Regions from separate parts of the Homo sapiens genome. Here all the other regions are linked to region 1. The links are contacts of gene promoters, found by promoter capture Hi-C in blood cells and fetal thymus (Javierre and others, 2016). All regions are on one chromosome and are shown on one strand. The core of a region is centred on a gene start or on the middle of the fragment in contact, and the rest is flanking DNA. Distances in the headings are between cores, read along the strand shown. Region 1 holds the start of SH3BGRL2 (SH3 domain binding glutamate rich protein like 2). Region 2 has its middle 41 kb from the start of IRAK1BP1. Region 3 overlaps PHIP (PHIP subunit of CUL4-Ring ligase complex). Region 4 overlaps PHIP (PHIP subunit of CUL4-Ring ligase complex). Region 5 holds the start of LOC124901346 (a long non-coding RNA gene). Region 6 overlaps PHIP (PHIP subunit of CUL4-Ring ligase complex). Region 7 overlaps PHIP (PHIP subunit of CUL4-Ring ligase complex).

Region 1 (2,909 bases), core at 183-2,682:
ATAGCTAGAAACACCAGAAACTGTCAGAAGTCTGAGGACCCCAACATGACTGCACATAAGTGTAAGTTGGATTTTCCCATCTATTGTTTCTAGTGCAAATGGGGGTGGAGGGGCTTTGTATGATCGTGTTGGTTTCTTTTTAAATAAAAAACTTCAGTGGTGTACAAGGATTTTCAAACAATATTTTATTCCATCCTCCACTCCACCCACTTAAGAAACAAATTTTGGAACAATCTGACTGAGCTACTGGGCAGACAATTGACCAGACCAAATTTAAGCAATCTACAATGCACTTTTTGATGTTACTTGATTATATATGTCACAAAGGAGGCTCTTAAATCTATAGCTGAACTCTTGGTTAAGGAAACCAAGTCTCAATAATCATGTAAAACACATGTGCTATGTCCCTTAGTGGGCTGTCAAATATACTAACTACTGAATTTTCCTTAAATTCTGACATCTCTAGCTATTTAACTTTCCTTTCTTTAAAAAAATTTTTTTTCTCTAAAAAAATTCAAGAACATCCACCAAAGAGAATAGCTAAAAATAATTAAATAGAAAACCACAATTCATAGATCCCCAGGATAAAATTTCCACAGCATTACAGGTGGAAAGAAAATGCGTGCATACACACACATTTACATAAAGATGTAAAAATATTTATGGCACCCTAAGAAAAAAAATGACAGTGAAAGCAAACAATCCTACCACAACAGGACAAACCTAGTTTTACTATTCTCTTTGCGCAGGTATAAAACTAAACAAATGCACTTGCTGGCGGGGAAGGGAGGACAGAGAGCAATTCCCACTTAAACTTGCTTCATTCAGGAGCTAGGGTAACAAACCAAAGCAGCAGAAAAGGCTCCCGTGCAAAACATAACCAGTCTGAAGGTCCCAAATCGGGAAGAACTAAACTAGGGGAAGGGGGATCCCCGAAGCTCTTGAACAACCCGTTCCCCAAATTTCCATGCCACACAACAGGAGCTGGGGGCTTCCCTCGGACTCCATTTTCAGGCCGCGTTGTCTGCCTTTCAGGCCACGCAGGGTGGGCATTTGGGTGAGGCCGGGGTCCCCCACCCACCTTTCCTCCCCGCCCTCTTCATTGTTGTCGGAGTGTGATGGATCACCTGCCGGGCGCGGGCTCCCGCGGGCGGACCGGCTGAGCGCAAGGACGCGCAGTGACGAGCGCCGCGCGCCTCCCGCAGGACCCGCGCCCCGCGACCCCAACCTACTGCCCGCCCCCACCGCGCTCACCGCCACGAAGCCCGAGGAAGAGGCGATGAACACGCGGATGACCATCCTCTCGCTGCGCCCGGGACAGACCCCTTGCCCCCCGGGCTCCGGGCTGGCGTGGACGCAGAGCTGAACCCAGCTACGAGCCGCCGGCAGCCTCTGGGTAAAGCGCTGCCGTCGGGGAAGATCGCTGGGATCTGGCTCCCTCCCGGCGGGTCCGCAGATAAAAGCCCAGCGCCGCCCGGCCGCAGGCTGAAGGGGAAGGAGAGGGAGGAGGAGGGAGCCGGCTGCGGGGCTTGATGGGATTTGTAGTTTCCGTCTCTCCCTGGAGTGGCTGGTGGACTGAGCTCCCCTCCTGACCGCGCTTCTATCCCGAACACGCGCAGGTGGCTGGAGGGGAGCCACAGCCCGGGCAGAAGCTGTGAGGTGGGTTGGCAAGGATCCTGGCTTGATGAGGAAAAAGCAAACTAGGCAAAAGGGCTCGGTTCAAAGTCCAAGCTTGGGTTCTGTATTGTGGTTTATTGGTTTGGAGCATCCACACCCAGAAATGCCAACAGACACGATCGTGCTGCGGGCACACATCGTCTCAGGGCCGCTGGCGTACCGGGCAAACCCCAGCTACCTGAAGCAGGCGGGATCGGCGAGCCGGGTGCTTGGGAGGTGTGGGCGGTGGGGTTGGGCTCGTTTGTTTGTCCAGTAGCACTGGAGATTGCAGAAAGGTGATTCTTTTGGGTAAATGAGAGGTCTTCTCTTGTCTGTACACACTGAAAATTAGAAACCCAGATGGAAGCACAACCAATATTTTATTTTTCTCAGCAAAACTGTAATTGTAGTAGAAAAAAATAAATACCAAACGAAATTGGAATCCTTCTATCAACATTGGAAATCAGGACCCTACCTGCCCCACCCCTCCCTACACAATGGCTTCGCCTCTGTGCACCTAATATTTACAGTTCAGCCAAATCTGTGCCTTTTTCAGAACCGCTGCACATTCCAGCGCAGTTTCCCAGGAGGATGCTGTTAAATAAAAAGCTTCTATATAGTTGCTAATAGTTTAGGAATAGTTTTTTATCAAGTGCTTTCTGTTTGACAAAAGCTCAAGCCTCTCTCTCAGTTTTGTCGAAAGGAACCAGTTTTCCCTGCTGTACTGTATTTACTTTTTTCCTTTCAACACGGGAGTTTAGCAGAGGTCTGGGAACAATGTTAATTAAGAAAAAGTAAGAAATTAGATGATGAGGTCTCTGGCTCTTTGATACATTTCTTGCACAAAGAGCAATCATTATGAAGTATTTTTTAGAACAGTTATGAATATTTCAAATTTATAACCTTTCCTATTGCTTTTCTTAAAGCCATTTCTGTAGTAGGAATCTTTTTAAATTTCCTTCAATAATAGAAGAGACACTCCTAATGGGACTTTATTTCTTCTTCGTGTTTAAAATTTTAAATAGAAGTTTTGCTGTCTTTAGTATCTCTCGGCAAATGTACTTTAATTTTGCTACCATAAATGTGGAAATGCACGTTTATAAAATAGAAAATAATTTTCTTAAAAGTAGATACCGTATTTCCTATATAAATGCAAATCTTTATAAAAGTCAGCATTTTCTTCAGTTTGGAATTATTCAGCTATGAAGATATAGTTAAACTCAAATAATTGGAACTCAGAGCCTACTCTGTGA
Region 2 (2,909 bases), core at 304-2,803, 720 kb after region 1:
TGTTTCCCTTCCACCCTTTTCCTGTATTTTTGTGGGAAACAGAATACTGTAATGAAAAGATGCCATTAAAAAATTATGAAAAATATCCAACATATAGAAATAACATCACTGATTCTGCTGAGAGTGAGCAAAAAAAGAAAAGAAATAACATCAAACATCTGGTCTGTATTCAAATTTCCAAATGTCTCCTGCTATAAATATTTGTTGATTTAGCGTGTTTGAATCAAGATCCAAATAAACTCCACACATTGTAATTGGTTCCCATGTGTCTTAAAGTAATTCATAGGTTCCCTTGGCATCTGGACTTCATCTTAGCCTATGTACCACTTTTTATTGTTGCTGGAGCAAATTAAAGGCCCTTCTCCTAGTGAAATGTGGGGACCCAGCAGTGCTGTTCAGATTTAGAGTTGTGCAATTCTGCATTTGTCATGCCCTTAAATAGCCCAGCTTTTCGGCTTGGAATCAGGAAGTGAAAAGAGCATACAAATACATGTCTCTTTAATTATGTTTTCATTCAGGGGAACGTTGAAGTACTTTATGAAAATTGCTGAGAGAAGCTAGGTTAAAATCTTTACATTTCAGGGAAAGAGAAGGAGGCTGTGCTAAGCTTCAGGCCAATCTGATACAACTGCTCCTTGATTCACCATGAGATTATGTCTGGATAAACTCAATGTAAATTGAAAATATTGCTAAGTCAGAAGTGTGTTTTTGACTTAGGATATTTTCAACTTATAATGGGCTTGTCTGGACATATTCCTGCCATAAGTGGAGGTATATACTGAATGTGTATGGCTTTTGCACCACCATAAAGTTGAAAAATCATAAATTGAACTATCGTAAGTTAGGATCATCTGTATTTGCTTGCTTCGCCATCTTAAATCATTAGTTTTCCTTCTCAGTATACACTTTTCCCTCTTATCACTTCATATTTTCTCTGTAGTCCCAAGACTGGCCTTTCATGCTATTACTCCTCACAGTTTCTGATCAACGTTCTAATGCCAAAGGCTGGCTGACAAATCATCAAGGATGCTGTAGAAGAGGTTTGAGATTAGACAGAAGGTGGGCCCAGAATTGATCCTATCTATCTCCTTCAGCTCTAGGACTGCACATACATCAAGAAATAAACCTGTTGTTGGGAAAGAACTTGAAAGGCAGATGATGACTCACCATCTTCTACCTATTAGACTACTGTTGGTGAAGAGTCAGCTGAGGGTGGCTTAAAAAAATATTGCACATTGATTTTCCACCCCATTATGTGTCTAAACCCAGAAGTTCTTCTGGTAGATGTGCACACGCTAGCAATATGTAGGCACCTATTGAACACTGACCAATGAGTGCCATCTTGGCTGAGTCTGGTGGCTTACACCTGTAATCCTAGCACTTTGGGAGGCCATGGTGGGAGGATAAGCTGAGGCCAGGAGTTTGAGACCAGCCTGGGCAACATAGTGAGACCTCATCTCTACTAAAAATAGGAAAATTAGCCAGGTGTGTTGGTTGAGTCTTAGCTACTCAAGAGGCTGAGACAGGAAGATCACTTGAGTCTGGTGTTCAAGGTTACAGTGAGCTATGATGGCACCACTGCATTCCAGCCTGGGCAACAGAGTGTGACCCTGCTCTAAAAAAATAAAAAATAATGGCCGAGTGTGGTGGCTCACGCCTTAATCCCAGCACTTTGGGATGCTGAGGCGGGTGGATCACGAGGTTAGGAGTTCAAGACCATCCTGACCAATATGGTGAAACCCCATCTCTACTAAAAATACAAAAAAATTAGCCAGGCATGATGGCGGGCACCTGTATTCCCAGCTACTCGGGAGGCTGAGGCAGGAGAATTGCTTGAACCCGGGAGGCAGAGGTGGCAGTGAGCCAAGATTACACCAATGCACTCCAGCCTGAGCAACAGAGTGAGACTCTGTCTCAAAAAATAGATAAATAAATAAATAAATAAATAAATAAAATAAAAAATAAAAGGCCGGGTGCAGTGCCTCATGCCTGTAATTCCAGCACTTTGGGAGGCTGAGGCGGGCGGATCAAGAGGTCAGGAGTTTGAGACCAGCCTGGCCAATATGGTGAAACCCCGTCTCTACTAAAAACACAAAAATTAGCTGGGCCTGGAGGCATGCGCCTGTAGTCCCAGCTACTGGGGAGGCTGAGGCAGAAGAATGGCTTGAACCCGGGAGGCAGAGGTTGCAGTGAATGGAGATTGCGCCATTGCACTCCAGCCTGGGTGACAGAGTGAGACTCTGTCTCAAAAAAAAATAATAATAAATAAATAAAAACAAGTGTTATCTCAGTTACTAAGCAAAACATCTAATATAATTAGGCTACCTCAATTTTTCATTGTGTGTGTGTATTCAACAACACACAGACAAAATAAACATTCTCAGTAACAGCTTCTAAAGTTTTAGTTTTAACACAGAAACTATGGATTAAATGGGTCTCTGGAATTTCACTTCCCTTTCCTCAGGAAAGGATCTTCTGTTCCTAGTGAAGAAAGCTTTTCTTGCAGTAGAAGCTTCCTCTTTATTTTCATCACAAATACCAGGTGGGCTTTTATCTGGACACACAAATGTAAGATACCTGTTATATGACCCCAAGTTTTGTGGAAAATATGGTGCTTGAATCAGAGGAAATTGTGCTATTTATCATTTATTTTAATAAAAATAGGTATAACTAGGAAGAAAGCTAATTATATGGTAATGTTTCTAATTAGTTTTCAATCCAATACCAAAAAATAAAAATTAGTGACAGATTCACACAGTAACTAGAAAAACACCTAGCATTTTAAGGGTAAATATTTCTAAAATAATTTGCACAGCAAAGTTAGTAACCTTGTTTTTCATCTTTTTTCCTCATATACTGCTTAGAGATGCATCATGGAAGACATCACTGTGGAGTTGTGTACAAATAGT
Region 3 (2,909 bases), core at 199-2,698, 690 kb after region 1:
ATGAGAAAGAATAGATGCTAGTCCTAGATAGAAAACAGGTTCAAACATTTGGGATAGTTTCAGTGTAATAAAGTTGACAATAAGTTTTGTCTGTATGAGCCATTTGAATTTAGAGTCGGACTTTTCTTTAAGAATCTCAAAACTTGGAAGATTTCTGTTCTAAACACAAAAATACATAATTGTTAAAATGCTTCAGTTTACCTTTTCATCAAAAGATTAGGAAAAAGGGATGTAAAAAACAATAATTAAATTCTAAATATTTTTTACTGGAAAAATATTTACATTACAGTATTTACTGAACAAAGGTATTTTCCTCCAAGGAATGGTTGAACACTTTTTTTTTTCCCTCACAGATTTACAGCATGAGTTTGCGCCTGTCTGCTTTCTTTGAAGAACACATTAGTTCAGTTTTATCAGATTATAAATCTGCTCTTCGTTTTCATAAAAGAAATACCATAACCAAAAGGAGGAAGAAAAGAAACAGAAGCAGCTCTGTTTCCAGTAGTGCTGCATCAAGGTATTTAATTTCTTTTAAATACCACTAGCTGATCTATAACTTTCATCTAAATGATAGAACTTGGTGTTTTTTAATACTTCCTTTACTATTCCCTATATTGCAGAATGATAATTTGACATGCAAGTTCCTATGATGTGGAGGATTTTTAATCTTTTAACTAAAGCTATACTAGTGTAAGTGCTTAAATTCAAACTGCTAAATCTATACAGTAAAACAGCATTTTTAGGATAGTGATGGCATCATGCTTTCCGTCATATAACTTTAGCATTTACAGCGATCCTTCACTAAATATTCACTTTCAAAGGCTCACAATCATATGAAATCCACTATAAATCTCATATTTTAACATATTTCATAATAGTACAAATATTGAATCCAAAAATATTATAAACTGTTTTATTCGTTCACATAGAGCTATAAGAGTGACTGACAATACTATTTTATTTACAGCCCTGAAAGGAAAAAAAGGATCTTAAAACCCCAGCTAAAATCAGAAAGCTCTACCTCTGCATTCTCTACACCTACACGATCAATACCGCCAAGACACAATGCTGCTCAGATAAACGGTAAAACAGAATCTAGTTCTGTGGTTCGAACCAGAAGCAACCGAGTGGTTGTAGATCCAGTTGTCACTGAGCAACCATCTACTTCTTCAGCTGCAAAGACTTTTATTACAAAAGCTAATGCATCTGCAATACCAGGGAAAACAAGTAAGACTCACTTTCTAAATTGAAATGTATATGATGATTTTCTTAATTTAAGCTTTTACTTTGCCAAATGCAATATACTGAGTTTTAGTAATTCCTAGCAGACACTGTTGTTTTTGCCTTCTTTATTAATTTCCTATTTTAAAAAAAAGTTTTTAATAAGAAGAATTAAATTGAGGTTTAGGTCATTATAGACTAATGCTTAAAAATGGCAACTCTGATCTAAACTACCTGAATTTAAATCACAGTACCCACACTAGCTAGCAATTTGCCAAGACTTGCCTTCGAAATTTTGAAATGATGGGACAGCTTCTAAAAGGGCTGAAACTATTAAGAGTTTCTAGTTGGATACGCCTTTTTCCTATTAGAAAGTAGCTTTCCTAAGAAAGCTTTAAGCATCCTTCAGGTTTTGTTGTCTTGGCTAATTCAAATAATTCAGGTTAACCTTTTTTCTTATCTTTAGGTTCAATAACTCTTAATTTTTAAATTTTGTTTGTATGTTTTAGTACTAGAGAATTCTGTGAAACATTCCAAAGCTTTGAATACTCTTTCCAGTCCTGGTCAATCCAGTTTTAGTCATGGCACTAGGAATAATTCTGCAAAAGAAAACATGGAAAAGGAAAAGCCAGTCAAACGTAAAATGAAGTCATCTGTACTCCCAAAGGCGTCCACTCTTTCAAAGTCATCAGCTGTCATTGAGCAAGGTAAGGTATTACTTGTATCTTTCAAGATACAGTAGATCCTTATTATAAATAATGCTTTTGTTGGAATCAGCATTTATATCCACTTTTCAGGTTGCCCACTTAAAAGTCACACATCTGTATTAGTTGATAAATTTACTGCAATGAGCTATTATTGTGCCACTGCACTCCATCCTGGTAAACAGAATGAGACCCTGTCTCAAAAGAAAAAAAAAAAAAAGAAATAAATCTTCAAAGTTTAAATTAAATAGGGTATAGTTAACCCAATGTAGCATTCTTCACTTTTCTAGAAAAATGTTTAAGTAATTATTGGATCACAAAACTACTTATTTTTCTAGACTGACTTTTACTAAATAATAATTCATTGGGGTTGTCTACAACTGTAGAATACAACTTTTGACACCTTACTGTTACACTTCAAGTTCTTTCACCTCCAGGTTTTTATTGTAAAGTCTTTATGTTTGAAAGATGAAGAAGGTAAATAATAAAATATGCCATGTGACATGTTAAAATAATATGGCTTCTTGGCAGCAGACAGCCCAATAATAAGCATTTTGCATCATGACTTTCAAAGTGTGTCTAAGACATTTCTTCATTGTTGTCTTCAGAAACCTCTCTCAAAATTTAATTTCTCTACTGAAATCTTATTTTTGTTAATGGCATTGGGATCTACCCGTGTAAACTTAAAATCAGGGAGTCATCCTAGCCTTCTCTTCAGCAACTGAATCTGTTCAACAGCTTTTTGTTTTTGTTGTTTCTCCCTCCATAACATCTCTTAAATCTATTCTCTCCTCTCCATTCTCACCTCCATGACATTATTTCAAGGCCTACATAATTTCTTGCTTGGACTATTTTCCTAGTTTCCTAACTGGTCTTCCTGCCTCAGTTCTCAACTCTTTCTTAACCAGTCCCTCTCTCATATTGCAGCCAAAGCGATCTTTTTATTTCTCTCTAGCACATGTGGATGTGTGTACGTACACACAG
Region 4 (2,909 bases), core at 410-2,909, 650 kb after region 1:
CCCCTAACCTTAAGTGATCTGCCCACCTTGACCTCTCAAAGTGTTGGGATTACAGGCGTGAGCCACAACACCCTTTGCAACTAATTTAAATCAAATTTTAAATATCCCAATATGACTGATATTATAAGATATCACTGATATTTTCTGTAATCATAAAATGTTATTTTATAAAATTATGCAATAAGACATGTATTCAACATATCTTAGGAAGGCGAAGTAGTTGCTGTCAGTGGTGGAACATCCGAAGAAGAAGAGAGAGCATGGCACAGTGATGGCAGTTCTAGGTAAATGAATGCTTTTTATTTTTCCAAATGTTATATAAAGTCTTTAGAAAGGTGTTTTTTTTTTTAACCAGCAACACGTTTCAAAGTCTCTGTAAGTTCAAAGTTCTTCAGAGAGTTTTTGAAGTTGTATGAAATGTAGATTTTCTGATATATGTTCTCTATAGAAAATAATTTTTTGGTGATTGCAACTAGATCTGCAAAATGATGCTTTTAACTTTATCATCTTAGTATTGTTTCTTCTGAATACCGTTATAATGTTGAATTGCAAACCAGTTTCATTACTGGTTTTGAAAAGTATGAAGTTAAGAAAGCAATGCAAGCCTCCTGAGTTAACTATCTTATATAGTGGAATTTATGGAATACTAATGATAAGAGGAATAAGCTCTCCTTTTTCTTGTTATGCCTACCTTATTTGACCAGACCAGTGAGGATTCCTTCAACTCCTTATACTGGCGATTCACATTGTTGCAGAGCTTATGACCTTGGCTAACTTTGCAAGGTCTTAATAGCAAAAAGAGAGTATAGCCTTTGGGGATGGCAATTATGATTAGCTGCTACACTTATCCCCCACCTTAGTGGCTCTTAAAATAGACGAGACAAAGTATGAAGTAGAGGCTGTAAGAGTTCCTCAGTTGTACAATCAAGGGCTCTCCTATTCCCACAGTAGTGATTTCTGGTAATGATGTGCAAATGTGTGTGGTTATATCTAGTAGTTTTCTGTATTCAAAACAGGTCAATGAAGGAAAAATTGAATTTCTTTTGGCTCGACAGCAGAATCAGAGTATTTCAAACCCTGAGATGACATAGGAGTTCCTGTATTAAAAGAGTAGTGGTGGTTTTAGCAGTTGAGGACGGTTGTAAAGAATGCTGGACTCTGGAGTTTGTAATTATGTTTATGCTGACAGCAGAAGATCTTCTGTAAGAGCCAAGTACTCCAGAGAGTGATAACTGTGTGATTTGGCAGGTACCATTTACAGTGGCCATGGCTGGAGCTAGTATAAATAAAATGCTCATAAGTTGAAGACAACCTATTTTAGAATAGCATAGCTGAAAATAGTGTAAGTTCTTAAAAATCATTTTAAATTTCATAGTGAAATCACTAAATCATGCTAGAGAACATCTTAATTATTTGATTCTTATCTGGGATGATTAGGATAATCAGAGATTTAGGTACGTGCTTATAAAGAACATTTGGACAGTGGAGAGGGGTAGTGGGGAGGGTTAGTGACAATGGAATAAAGCTCCAGAAAAATCTGCTTTTTCAGTGTTAATGTTAACAGCAGTATTTTTAGAGGCATGAGGTCATATATCATTAAATCTGGGAAAGCTAATTATTGCTTTTAACATAGTATAACTTAGGTTCCTTTAAGACATTTATGTTCATAAAATTGTACAAAATAAGTAAATATGCTCACATACTAAAATTAATATAGAAGATAATACAACTAGATTCTTTATTTTGCAACATGATTGGTTCAGTAAATCGTTTGTCAATGAAGGTAAACTAAAAAGAAATGACAAACATGATTGGAAGCAGTATACAAAATATAGTAAGGCCTGTATTTTTCTGAATCATGGCATGCTTTGAAGCATAAGATACACCTAACGTGTAGGGTGTAGGTAGGTAGAATAATTTTATCTAAATGAAATTTTGTTACTTTACATGCAGAGTAAAGTTTGCAAACACAGTCTTTCCCCTGGGTAGGAACACTTCTGACTCTGCCAGTTCAATATCCAGCTACCCTGAGAGCACTAGTACTGGACCATAAGAGTTCCCCTGTCTGGAACTCCCACCTCCCCTTAAAAAAGGAATCCCCATATCTCCTTAATGTTGACACCTTCTGTGCTCTCCAGGGTTATCTTTTTGCTGTCAATAGAACTGAGAAAAGTGACCCCCTCTTATTTTTATATGCTCACAGAATTTGTAACATATGCAACACTCAGAAGTCAGTATTTTTCTTAAAATCTTGGAAGGTACTTAAATTTGTTTTTTCACTTAAAGTTGTGACTTTATGTATCTTCAGGTTTTGGGGGAGTTTTTTTGCGATATTTAAGTAAAGCCTATAGAATTTCAAGAAACTTTTGAAGATGAGTTGAAAATTAGGGAAGTTTTTTTGTAGTTTAAGTATTTGTTCTGTCATTTCTCTTTATTATAATCTTTCTTTTCGTTTTTATAAAACAAGTCTTAAAATTTTATCTTGTGTGTTATCTAATAATCCCTTCTCTCCTTCTAGTGACTACTCCAGTGATTACTCTGACTGGACAGCAGATGCAGGAATTAATCTGCAGCCACCAAAGAAAGTTCCTAAGAATAAAACCAAGAAAGCAGAAAGCAGTTCAGATGAAGAAGAAGAATCTGAAAAACAGAAGCAAAAACAGATTAAAAAGGAAAAGAAAAAAGTAAATGAAGAAAAAGATGGACCAATATCACCAAAGAAAAAGAAGCCCAAAGAAAGAAAACAAAAGGTTTGGTTTTTAACATTACAAATTTGGTGTTTTCTAGAGAAACAGTTTAAAGCACACATCTTGAAGTACAATTGATCACAAACATTGTTGAAGTGTATCAGCAAATAATAATAGAAAAAACTCAGAAATACACAGTAGTAAAAAAGTTTACCTAAATAT
Region 5 (2,909 bases), core at 234-2,733, 630 kb after region 1:
TTTGTGGTATTGTATTAACTTCTTAGGTAAAGTCCTTTCTTTTATAGAAATATTTTCTCTTTTTACCAAAATGCAAACCTTCCTTGAGAAATCAGTTATTCTTCTTCTGAATTTTAACTTCTGCATTTGGTGAACTGTACATCCATCCTTATGCCACATTTTTAATACTAAAGAAAGAAAGTTACTACCTTTCTCTTTTCCAAGCATTTCCTGGGATATTACTAATAAAGCTCAATTTGTTCTAGATCAGTGGATACCGGAACAGAAAGGAGGTATTTCTTACCTGATAATGTGTGTGTGTTCCGATTCTGCTAATCCAGAAATCCAACAGCATTTGTTGAAAATCATCCTTAGTTGTTATTTGTTAGGGAGTCAACTCCCTATTTTAGTTGTTTCTGAAATTCAGTCCCTAGATGTGCTTTAGATAGGGTAGAATTTTTACCTCTTTCAGAACACTGCTAAAGAAGTTTTCAACTGGAACATAGTCTGAAGAAGCACTGAGAGCAAAAAATTCAGAGTGGTGATTGGCCACCTCTGTTTGATTGACAGGTTGCAGGGAGGAAACCCATTCGTTCTGGATTAATGGAACTGGAAAACAGAAAACAATTATCAGGTAAAAAAAACCTTTTCTTTAACCTTTGAAATTCACCATTTAAAAGACGAGTCAGACTACCAGGGAATTTATTACCAAAAATAATAAAATCTAGTGTCATTTGAGCAATGATCTCTGGCTACTACTTCCAAGAATTACCAAAAAATCCGTACAGTTGCTACATGTCAGCTTTTGCAGAAAGGGCATGATTGAACGGAGATAGATGGAGTGTAAGACATAATTATGTGTTAAATCTGAGTTTAAAACATGAAGCAGAATTCTATGGGTGGGGGAGTTGGTATTCTTTTATTTCCTGAATTGTGTTTGGTCTGTGGATAGAATACTTTATTTTTCAAGGCTATTAATCTGGCACTTTTCATGAATATTCATAAATTTTATTACTGTACAATGCTTGTTTTACTTAATCTTCACTTCATTAGGATGTATGCTTTTATCTTAAAATTATTGTAATAATAGTGACCAATTCTTTTCATTTTAATGGTAGTTTTCTTACTGTTGGTTAAATATATTTCAGATTGAAGGCCAAGGACATGGCGCAGTATTTGACTGCAAATGCTCTCCTGATGGTCAGCATTTTGCATGCACAGACTCTCATGGACATCTTTTAATTTTTGGCTTTGGGTCCAGTAGCAAATATGACAAGGTAGAGTATGATGACTATATATCATGTCCTTATTTTTTTTTAATGCATGTTTAGGGGTTGTATGTTTTTGGAGTGGGTGAGAATCAGCATCTTTACATTCAGGATAAAATTCGAAGAATCTTGTGTTAAGTAGTCTGGAGACTTAGTTTCGGAAAGGAAGGTGAAGACAGCAGTTAAATCTCACTTTAATAGGGCTTATTATTTGAAAATCTGCATATTTCAGGAAAAAAATAACTCTTAGCCTCCTGGGGCAATCTAGATTGGAATTCTTAACTTGGGGTATATAAACTGGAGATGGAAGATGTTATCCATAGTGGGACTCTGAAATTATGTAAAATGTTTTTTTAATATAGATAATACGTACTTATCTAGGGTACAAATCTGTGGCTTTCATGTGGCTCTTAAAAATGTATTATATTACCTGATTGTAGTTAATGTTTTTTATTAAAGATCCTGTCCAGTTTTTGGGGGGCTTTTTTTTACAGAGTAGGGGTGAAATGTCTCACTATGTTGCCTAGACTGGCTTTGAATTCGTGGGCTCAAACAATCCTCTCATTTCAGCCTGCTAAATAACTGCAGGTGGCACTACAGGCATATGCCCTGCCACTTTGCTCAGCAGTTAAAGACCCCAACTTTAAGATTAGTGACTAAAAGAATTAAATTGCTTACTTGTGGTGGAATGGTATAAAAGGTTATGATAGTAAATATTGAGTAGTTTATAATTTAGTTTAAAAAATTGCAAATTAACCAGTGAAATTTTATATAATAAAATTTATGTCCTGGTTGAGTTTATATTAATAATTTTATATCATCTCAAAACATTTAGAGAAAATGCTTATTAACCCTTAGAAAATCTTATGTGATTTTTATAGTAATATTACACAAATCATACTTACTGTATACCTAAGGATTTAAGATAAAGCATGGTAGCTCTGTGGAAGTAAAAATACTGTTGAATGATTTATGACTAGATTTGATGTTACCATTTAATTTAAAATTGAATATTGAATAGCTTATTTTTAGTGGTAGCTTTTCTACACAGTAGCCTCCTCTTATCCACAGGGAATATGTTCCATGACTCCAAATGGATGTCTAAAACCTTGGAAAGTACCAAACCCTATTCACACTGTGTTTTTCCTATACAGTAATGGGTGGGTAGCATATCTAGACAATGTGGATATGCTGGACAAAGGGATGATTTGTGTCCCAAGTGAGATGGCACGTGATTTCATTATGCATTTTGGAACAGTGCACAGTTAAACTTATGAGTTGTTTATTTCTGGAACAGCATTTTTGGAGTCAGGTTGACCACAGGTAACTGAAACCATGGAAAGCAAAATTGCAAATAAGAGGGGACTCCTGTGTATAATCCCTTACTTGTTTCAGAGAAAATTTAAAGCAGCTACTTTTCTGATCATAATACTTAAGGTAGAAAATTAAAATACCTATTTACAATTAATTCAGGAAAATAATATTTTAAAAATTGTTGCTTAATACCATTATTCGTATTCAGGTGTTTGCTTTCTATTAGAAATGATGTAGACTTTTTTTCTACAATGATACATTTTTATTTTTCCAGTCTTTTATGGACTTTTCTTTTTGCAGATAGCAGATCAGATGTTCTTTCATAGTGATTATCGGCCACTTATTCGT
Region 6 (2,909 bases), core at 210-2,709, 600 kb after region 1:
GCAATTTTTAGTTTTGCTAGAAAAGCAGGTTACTTTTTAGCTTGAATAGGAAAATGAAATTGTAGTAAATATGACAATACAGACAACATTTTTGGCATTCATTTCTACTGCTTATTCTAATGGCAATAAGAGATGAGATCTCTGACTCAAAAGCTGTAAAGTAGCCTCAAGAGAAATTAAAATTCTCCTTGTTGACTCTGCCAGATAACAGTAGGTTTTCAAGGAATGCCAAATTCTCTAAGATATTTTTAGTTAAAAAATCACATAATTTCTTTTATTTTCATGTCAAAGTAGTAATCTTTGTATAATTTATGCCTCTCTTTTAGGTACATAGGTCAATATTTTAATTTTAAGGTTTCTCAAGTTATCTGAACAGAAGTAAACTGTTTCCCAATGTGTACAGTTTTCTGCTTGTGTTATTGAGCAGAGGGGGCTTGCTGCCCAGTGTACTAGAAGCCAATACTATGACACTGGGTTTTTGAGAAAAGAAAAGCTTTATATTGAAAGTCAACTCCCAAGAAGACTCAGGGGTCAAGCTCAAATCTGTCTCCTCATGCTGGTTTCAAGGCAGTATTTTTATTACAGGTTCAGTAGGGGTGAATTCTGAGATTAGTAGGTGTTTGGTGGAAGGAAAGGGGAGGTCTGGAATGTCCCTGGGCATGCACAGTTAACTCATTATGATACCTCATGGGTCACATGTGCAAATTCTAGGGTAGTTAGTATGAAATGTGGTAGATAGTCAGGCTATGATGTCAGCAAGCTTGTTCTGTGCAGACTCCAGTTGGCCATCTTGGTTCCAACTGATTTCAGCCAGTTCTATCTCATAAGTAGAGGGAGTTTCAGTGTTTGGACAAGTTGTTTCTTAGTTGCCATCCCGCACACTCAAAGAATATTAGTCATTCAGTGTTAATCAATGTTAGTCGTTGATTTCTTTAACTCTTTGGGGCATGATTTCACTTAGAGAATTCAACCATTCCTTGTCATTTATGCTGCTTCCTGTAAATTACTTTATTACTGAACAGAATTGTCCTCTCTAATTGTCTACTTCATAGTTTTGCAACATCTGGGCCTAAATTGACTTCTTGGCCTTGCATAGAAAGGCCTGTATTTCATTTATGTAGTCAGAGTATCTGTAAATAAGCCATACCAGAAAGAGCTCTATCAAGTTGTTCTGAAACTTAGCTTTTCTTTAAATAAATAAATAGTTCAATTAGGCCTTTTGAAGCTTAACCTCTGGAAACTCATTAAATTATTAAAATTTGGGGGCATAGACTTTAGGTGCTGTTTGGTTTCTGCATCGAATTGAAGTGATTCATGGCCCTGTGTCTGAAGTTGTTTGAAGTTTTCATGGCAGTACGTAGGCCATTTTTTTCTGGATTTTGAGGATAATTTTAATACCAAAGTGCCTAACAGTAGAAAGCCACGTCATAAAGACCTGTGGAACTTTTCTTCATGAGAACATTAAAGTCAAATGTGTTACTAGACACTGCCTAGGCTTTATGAAAAATGCTAATACAGACGTACCCTGTTTCATTGTGCCTTTATTGCATTTTGCAAATACTGTATTTTTTACAAATTGTATATTTGTGAAAACCCTGAGTAAAGCAAGTCTGTCAGCATCATTTTTCTAACAACATATGCTCAAGTCTTGTCTCTTTCACATTTCGATACTTCTCACAATATTTCAAGCTTTTTCATTATTATTATAACTGTTATGGTGATCTATAATCTCTGATGTTCCTATTGTAAGTCTTTTTAGGGTGCCATGACCTGCACCCTTATGGCGAACTTAATGAATGTTGCATGTGTTCTGATTGCTCCACCAACTGGCCCTTCCCCATTTTTCTCTCCTTGGGCCTGCCTATTGAAATTAATCCAATTAATAACCCTACAATGGCCTCTTAGTGTTCAAGTGAGAGGAAGAGTCTCAGGTCTCTCACTTTAATTCAAAAGTTAGAAAAGATTAAGGCGAGTGAGGAATGCATGTTAAAAGAGTTAGCCAAGTTGTGAATGTAAAGCAAAAGTTCTTGAAGGAAATTAAACGTGCTACTCCAGTGAGCACACAAATGATGAGAAAGTTAAAGAGCTCATTGCTGATATAGAGAAAGTTTAAGTGGTCTCTATAGGAGATCAAAACTAGCCACAATACTCTTTTAAGCCAAAGGCTAATCCAAAGCAAGACCCTGACTCTTAATTCTGTGAAGGCTGAGAGATGAGGAAGCTACATAAGAAAAGTTGGAGCTAGCAGAGGTTGGCTTACGAGGTTTAAGGAAAAAAGCCATCTCCATAACATAAAAGTGCAACGTGAAGCAACAAGTGCTAATGAAGTAGTTGCCGCAAATTATCCAAAAGACCTAGCTAAGATCATTGAAGAAAGTTGCTACACTAAGCAATAGATTCTCAATTACAGGTGAAACAGCTGTGTATTGGAAAAATACATCATCTAGGACTTTCATAATTAGAGAGAAGTCAATGCCTGGCTTCAAAGCTTCAAAAAGCAGGCTGACTCTTTTGTTCAGGGCTGATGCAGCTAGTGACTTGAAGTTGAAACCAGTGTCCATTTACCATTTTTTAAATTCTAGGACCATAAGAATTATGCTAAACTACTTTGCTTGTGCTCTGTAAAGGGAACTACAAAGTCTGGATGACAGCATATCTTTTTATAGCGTGGTTTACTGAATATTTTAAGCCCACTGTTGATACCTACTGCTCAGAAAAAAAAAAAGATTCCTTTCAAGATATTACTGTTCATTAACAAGATGCCTGGTCACCCAGGAACCCTGATGGAAATATACAAGGTGGTTAGTGTTGTTTTTATGCTTGCTGACAATACATTTATTCTGCAGCCTGTGGATCAAGGAGTAATTCTGATTTTCAAGTCTTATTTAAGAAATACATTTCATATGGCT
Region 7 (2,909 bases), core at 276-2,775, 580 kb after region 1:
TCAAAGGTGGGTAAGGTATTACAAAAATGGAATGAAGGTTGGTAGAAAGAAGAGAAGCTTGATCCAAGAATAGCTTTGTGGTAAGAGAAGATAAAATCACCAAACCAGAAACTGATTTTTAAGAAATTAAGGTTTATGAGTAGACTGAGTTATCAGTTCATTACACTTGGAATATAAAATACATACCTATACAATTTGAGAAGCCACTTGAGCTTGTCTCAGTGTTTTCTTATCCTGTTTTATTTTATTATGTGCTTAGAATTCCCAACTACTTTGAACCTTTTGGTCTTTGATGTAAGTTGTGAAAATTGAACTAGAACTCAGTCTCAGCAAGAGACCCAAAGTGGTTCACCTGCCTTCCAGTGCTCTAGAACCTCCTTTAATACTGTTTTCAAAAGCAAAGACAAAAGATCCCACTGATCTGTTGTTATTACTAGCTTGTGATTCTTTTATTGTGGAAGAGAGATGTGAGTGTGTACTTGGCATAGCAGCATTTACTTCCAAAGGTATTAGCGAATCTTTAGTATTGTCCTTTCTCTTACCTCCATACCCACATTATGCCTGTTTTCAGATATAGTTTATTCTATATTTGCTTATACTTCAGTAATAAATGTGCATGAGTAAGGGGAGATAGGAAAGAAGAGACCTAAATACATTAAAGGGGTTTTTAAGATTAAATTTGGAAGTTGGTTTAATGCATGTTTATCTTGTGAAAAAGATTGTAATACATTAAATTAAAGCAATTTCTGCTGATTGCTTTGTTTGCATTTTTCTTACATTTGACATGTTAGCAAAGTAAACTTTTTATCTCTAGGTCTTTCATTTGTCATCGTTTTTGGTGTTTTGCCTAAGTATTTCCATATTTTTATTTTACTTGTCTGTGGAGGTTTGCTATTAAGTTCTGCAGTTTTGTGTGAGGATAAGGAGTTTTGAGAATCCTGATTCTTAAACATGTTTGAGGGTAAGGAAAAAACTTTGCCTTGAAAAGTAGCTTCACTACCCAGACATCCAATTAATGCTAAGAAGCCTTTGCATTTAAAAAAAAAAAAAGTCTTAAATCTTGTCTACATTTATAATTTTGTGATTCTCTGAGAAGACTAGTTTGAATAAAGACAGCAAACAGTCACTTAAAGCTAGATGCAAATCTTTGTAGAGAAGACTCTTCTTTCTCACCTTGTGCTATATTTTGCCATATTTCCAATATTGTGTTTGAATTTTCTGTAGCTGGTAATTTCTTAAATTTATTCAATCAAGGTTTTTTTTTCTTAGACTCTTAGGTTTATATTTTTCCTCATATATTTCTTACATAATTATTAGAATTTTTTTATATTACAAATATATGAGATTACATAATTTTAATATATAAGTTAACAGTTACATATAATTCAGCAAATTATAGGATATAATATATGGGGTTTTTTTCCTGTTCACTTATCTTTTTCTAATATGCTATATTCAGTGTTTTTTCTTTCCATTTTCTTACTCAATCCATACTTTATTCCTAGTTAGATATCTACTCATCACTTATTTAAATATATTTATTTTAACCTATTGTTTCTCAGTAACCATTTTTACTTTTAGAGCTCATTTTCTGTTTTTCTAGTCATAATTTTAGTCTTATAAAGGTTTTATACTTCGCTTTTTTTTTTTTGGTTTAATGATTGTTGACTCAGTTATATTCTTTTTTGTCTTGGTCTTTGTTTTTTAGTGTTTTCCCTGAATGATCTTCATATTTCTATTTGACACAGGTTTTGTTGTTTTATTAACTATTTTCTCCCTAGCCCCTCCCCTGCCTTTCTATTTCCTCCCTTTTTTTTGCCTCTTAAAAACAGGTTAGCTGTGAGAGACTTGCAAGGTGTATTAGCATTTTTTTTTTTTTTAGGGAAATAATGTTCATTATGCCAAAGTATCAGATGTACAAAATATATATTTATTTATTTTTTCCTCTGCTTAAATTTCTTTTGAAATTAATGGTTGACAAAAAAAAGGGGGCAAAACTTTGAAGAAATGAAACTCCCTTAGGTGAGTTTAAATTGTTGCTTTTGTAGCTAGCTGTGTTTTAATTTCTTCTGTAACTAATAGGATAACATTTGTTTTTAGGTTATAGATGTGATGAGGGATATCCCCTCCACTTCATATAAACCATCTGGCAAGCAATTCCAGTAGTAATTAGGAATCACTAGCCATTTTCCCTTTTAGTTTGCATCACATATTTTTCCAGAGTGATTATTGGGTTTGATTTTGTTGAATACTCATATCTGTGTAGGTGAAGCAAATTATGATATTATTTTCTCATAAGGTCATGACTTTTTATTTTGAATTTCTTCAGGGATCCTTTAAAGTTACGTATTCAGTGTTTTCTTAGACATCTTTTGGACCTGGGAAGTCCATGATCAGATCAGGCTGAATAGATATTTTTATAAACAAAGGAATAATTTGTTCAGCTCCATAAGGAAGCCTCGGGGAAAATTGGGCTCCAACAAAAGTCTTTTAAAAAGTAAAAGAAAACTATGTTCAGTTAAATTAACTTTTATGGCACATGAAGATTTGATTGTTTAGGGACAGTCCATATCAATGTTAGTATAAAATACCTTTGAATTTGCAAAACATTTTGTCTCGTCTGTTTTCTATAGCAACTCTTTAAGATAACCCTACATTTTTAATTTAATTTTATTCTTTTGAGATTGAGTCTCGCTCTGTTGCCCAGGCTGAAGTGCAGTGGCGCAATGTCGGCTCACTCCAACTTGCTCCTCCCAGGTTCAAGCCATTCTCCTGCCTCAGCCCCTCAAGTAGCTGAGACTGCAGGCATGCACCACCACACCCGGCTAATTTTTGTATTTTTAGTAGAGACGGGGTTTCACCATGTTGGCCAGGCTGGTCTCGAACTCGTGACCTCAAGTGATCCACCT

The links. Contacts are between HindIII fragments. The CHiCAGO score rates a contact against its expected background, and 5 or more counts as called.
Region 2: a contact is called between a fragment that was not itself captured here and the fragment with the promoter of SH3BGRL2 in region 1, in 3 of 17 cell types (erythroblasts, megakaryocytes and M1 macrophages). The highest score is 6.5, in erythroblasts.
Region 3: a contact is called between a fragment that was not itself captured here and the fragment with the promoter of SH3BGRL2 in region 1, in 1 of 17 cell types (megakaryocytes). The highest score is 6.0, in megakaryocytes.
Region 4: a contact is called between a fragment that was not itself captured here and the fragment with the promoter of SH3BGRL2 in region 1, in 1 of 17 cell types (erythroblasts). The highest score is 5.4, in erythroblasts.
Region 5: a contact is called between a fragment that was not itself captured here and the fragment with the promoter of SH3BGRL2 in region 1, in 2 of 17 cell types (erythroblasts and megakaryocytes). The highest score is 6.1, in erythroblasts.
Region 6: a contact is called between a fragment that was not itself captured here and the fragment with the promoter of SH3BGRL2 in region 1, in 1 of 17 cell types (megakaryocytes). The highest score is 5.3, in megakaryocytes.
Region 7: a contact is called between a fragment that was not itself captured here and the fragment with the promoter of SH3BGRL2 in region 1, in 1 of 17 cell types (megakaryocytes). The highest score is 5.3, in megakaryocytes.

What each region holds. Positions count from the first base shown.
Region 1 is chr6:79,629,852-79,632,760 of GRCh38, reverse strand. SH3BGRL2 (SH3 domain binding glutamate rich protein like 2) reads right to left here and starts at 1,432. Exons shown (of 4, transcript NM_031469.4): 1 at 1,255-1,432. The coding sequence starts at 1,299. The HindIII fragment of the contact is 2,885 bases long and covers 1-1,733 here.
Region 2 is chr6:78,907,076-78,909,984 of GRCh38, reverse strand. It overlaps a transcript of IRAK1BP1 not described here. Among named protein-coding and RNA genes, the nearest start is that of IRAK1BP1, 41 kb to the right of the region's middle. The HindIII fragment of the contact is 1,887 bases long and covers 610-2,496 here.
Region 3 is chr6:78,944,319-78,947,227 of GRCh38, reverse strand. It overlaps PHIP (PHIP subunit of CUL4-Ring ligase complex), which reads left to right. Exons shown (of 40, transcript NM_017934.7): 37 at 354-517; 38 at 968-1,227; 39 at 1,731-1,928. It also overlaps a transcript of IRAK1BP1 not described here. Among named protein-coding and RNA genes, the nearest start is that of IRAK1BP1, 78 kb to the right of the region's middle. The HindIII fragment of the contact is 334 bases long and covers 1,282-1,615 here.
Region 4 is chr6:78,982,727-78,985,635 of GRCh38, reverse strand. It overlaps PHIP (PHIP subunit of CUL4-Ring ligase complex), which reads left to right. Exons shown (of 40, transcript NM_017934.7): 22 at 208-284; 23 at 2,519-2,750. Among named protein-coding and RNA genes, the nearest start is that of PHIP, 94 kb to the left of the region's middle. The HindIII fragment of the contact is 4,214 bases long and covers 1-2,909 here.
Region 5 is chr6:79,002,077-79,004,985 of GRCh38, reverse strand. It overlaps PHIP (PHIP subunit of CUL4-Ring ligase complex), which reads left to right. Exons shown (of 40, transcript NM_017934.7): 16 at 1,128-1,256; 17 at 2,862-2,909. LOC124901346 (a long non-coding RNA gene) reads right to left here and starts at 1,134. Exons shown (of 2, transcript XR_007059652.1): 1 at 284-1,134. The HindIII fragment of the contact is 4,846 bases long and covers 1-2,909 here.
Region 6 is chr6:79,032,879-79,035,787 of GRCh38, reverse strand. The region is part of intron 7 of PHIP (PHIP subunit of CUL4-Ring ligase complex); the gene reads left to right. The region is part of intron 1 of LOC124901346 (a long non-coding RNA gene); the gene reads right to left. Among named protein-coding and RNA genes, the nearest start is that of PHIP, 44 kb to the left of the region's middle. The HindIII fragment of the contact is 464 bases long and covers 1,228-1,691 here.
Region 7 is chr6:79,053,085-79,055,993 of GRCh38, reverse strand. The region is part of intron 6 of PHIP (PHIP subunit of CUL4-Ring ligase complex); the gene reads left to right. All of the region lies in intron 1 of LOC124901346 (a long non-coding RNA gene), which reads right to left. Among named protein-coding and RNA genes, the nearest start is that of PHIP, 24 kb to the left of the region's middle. The HindIII fragment of the contact is 2,931 bases long and covers 60-2,909 here.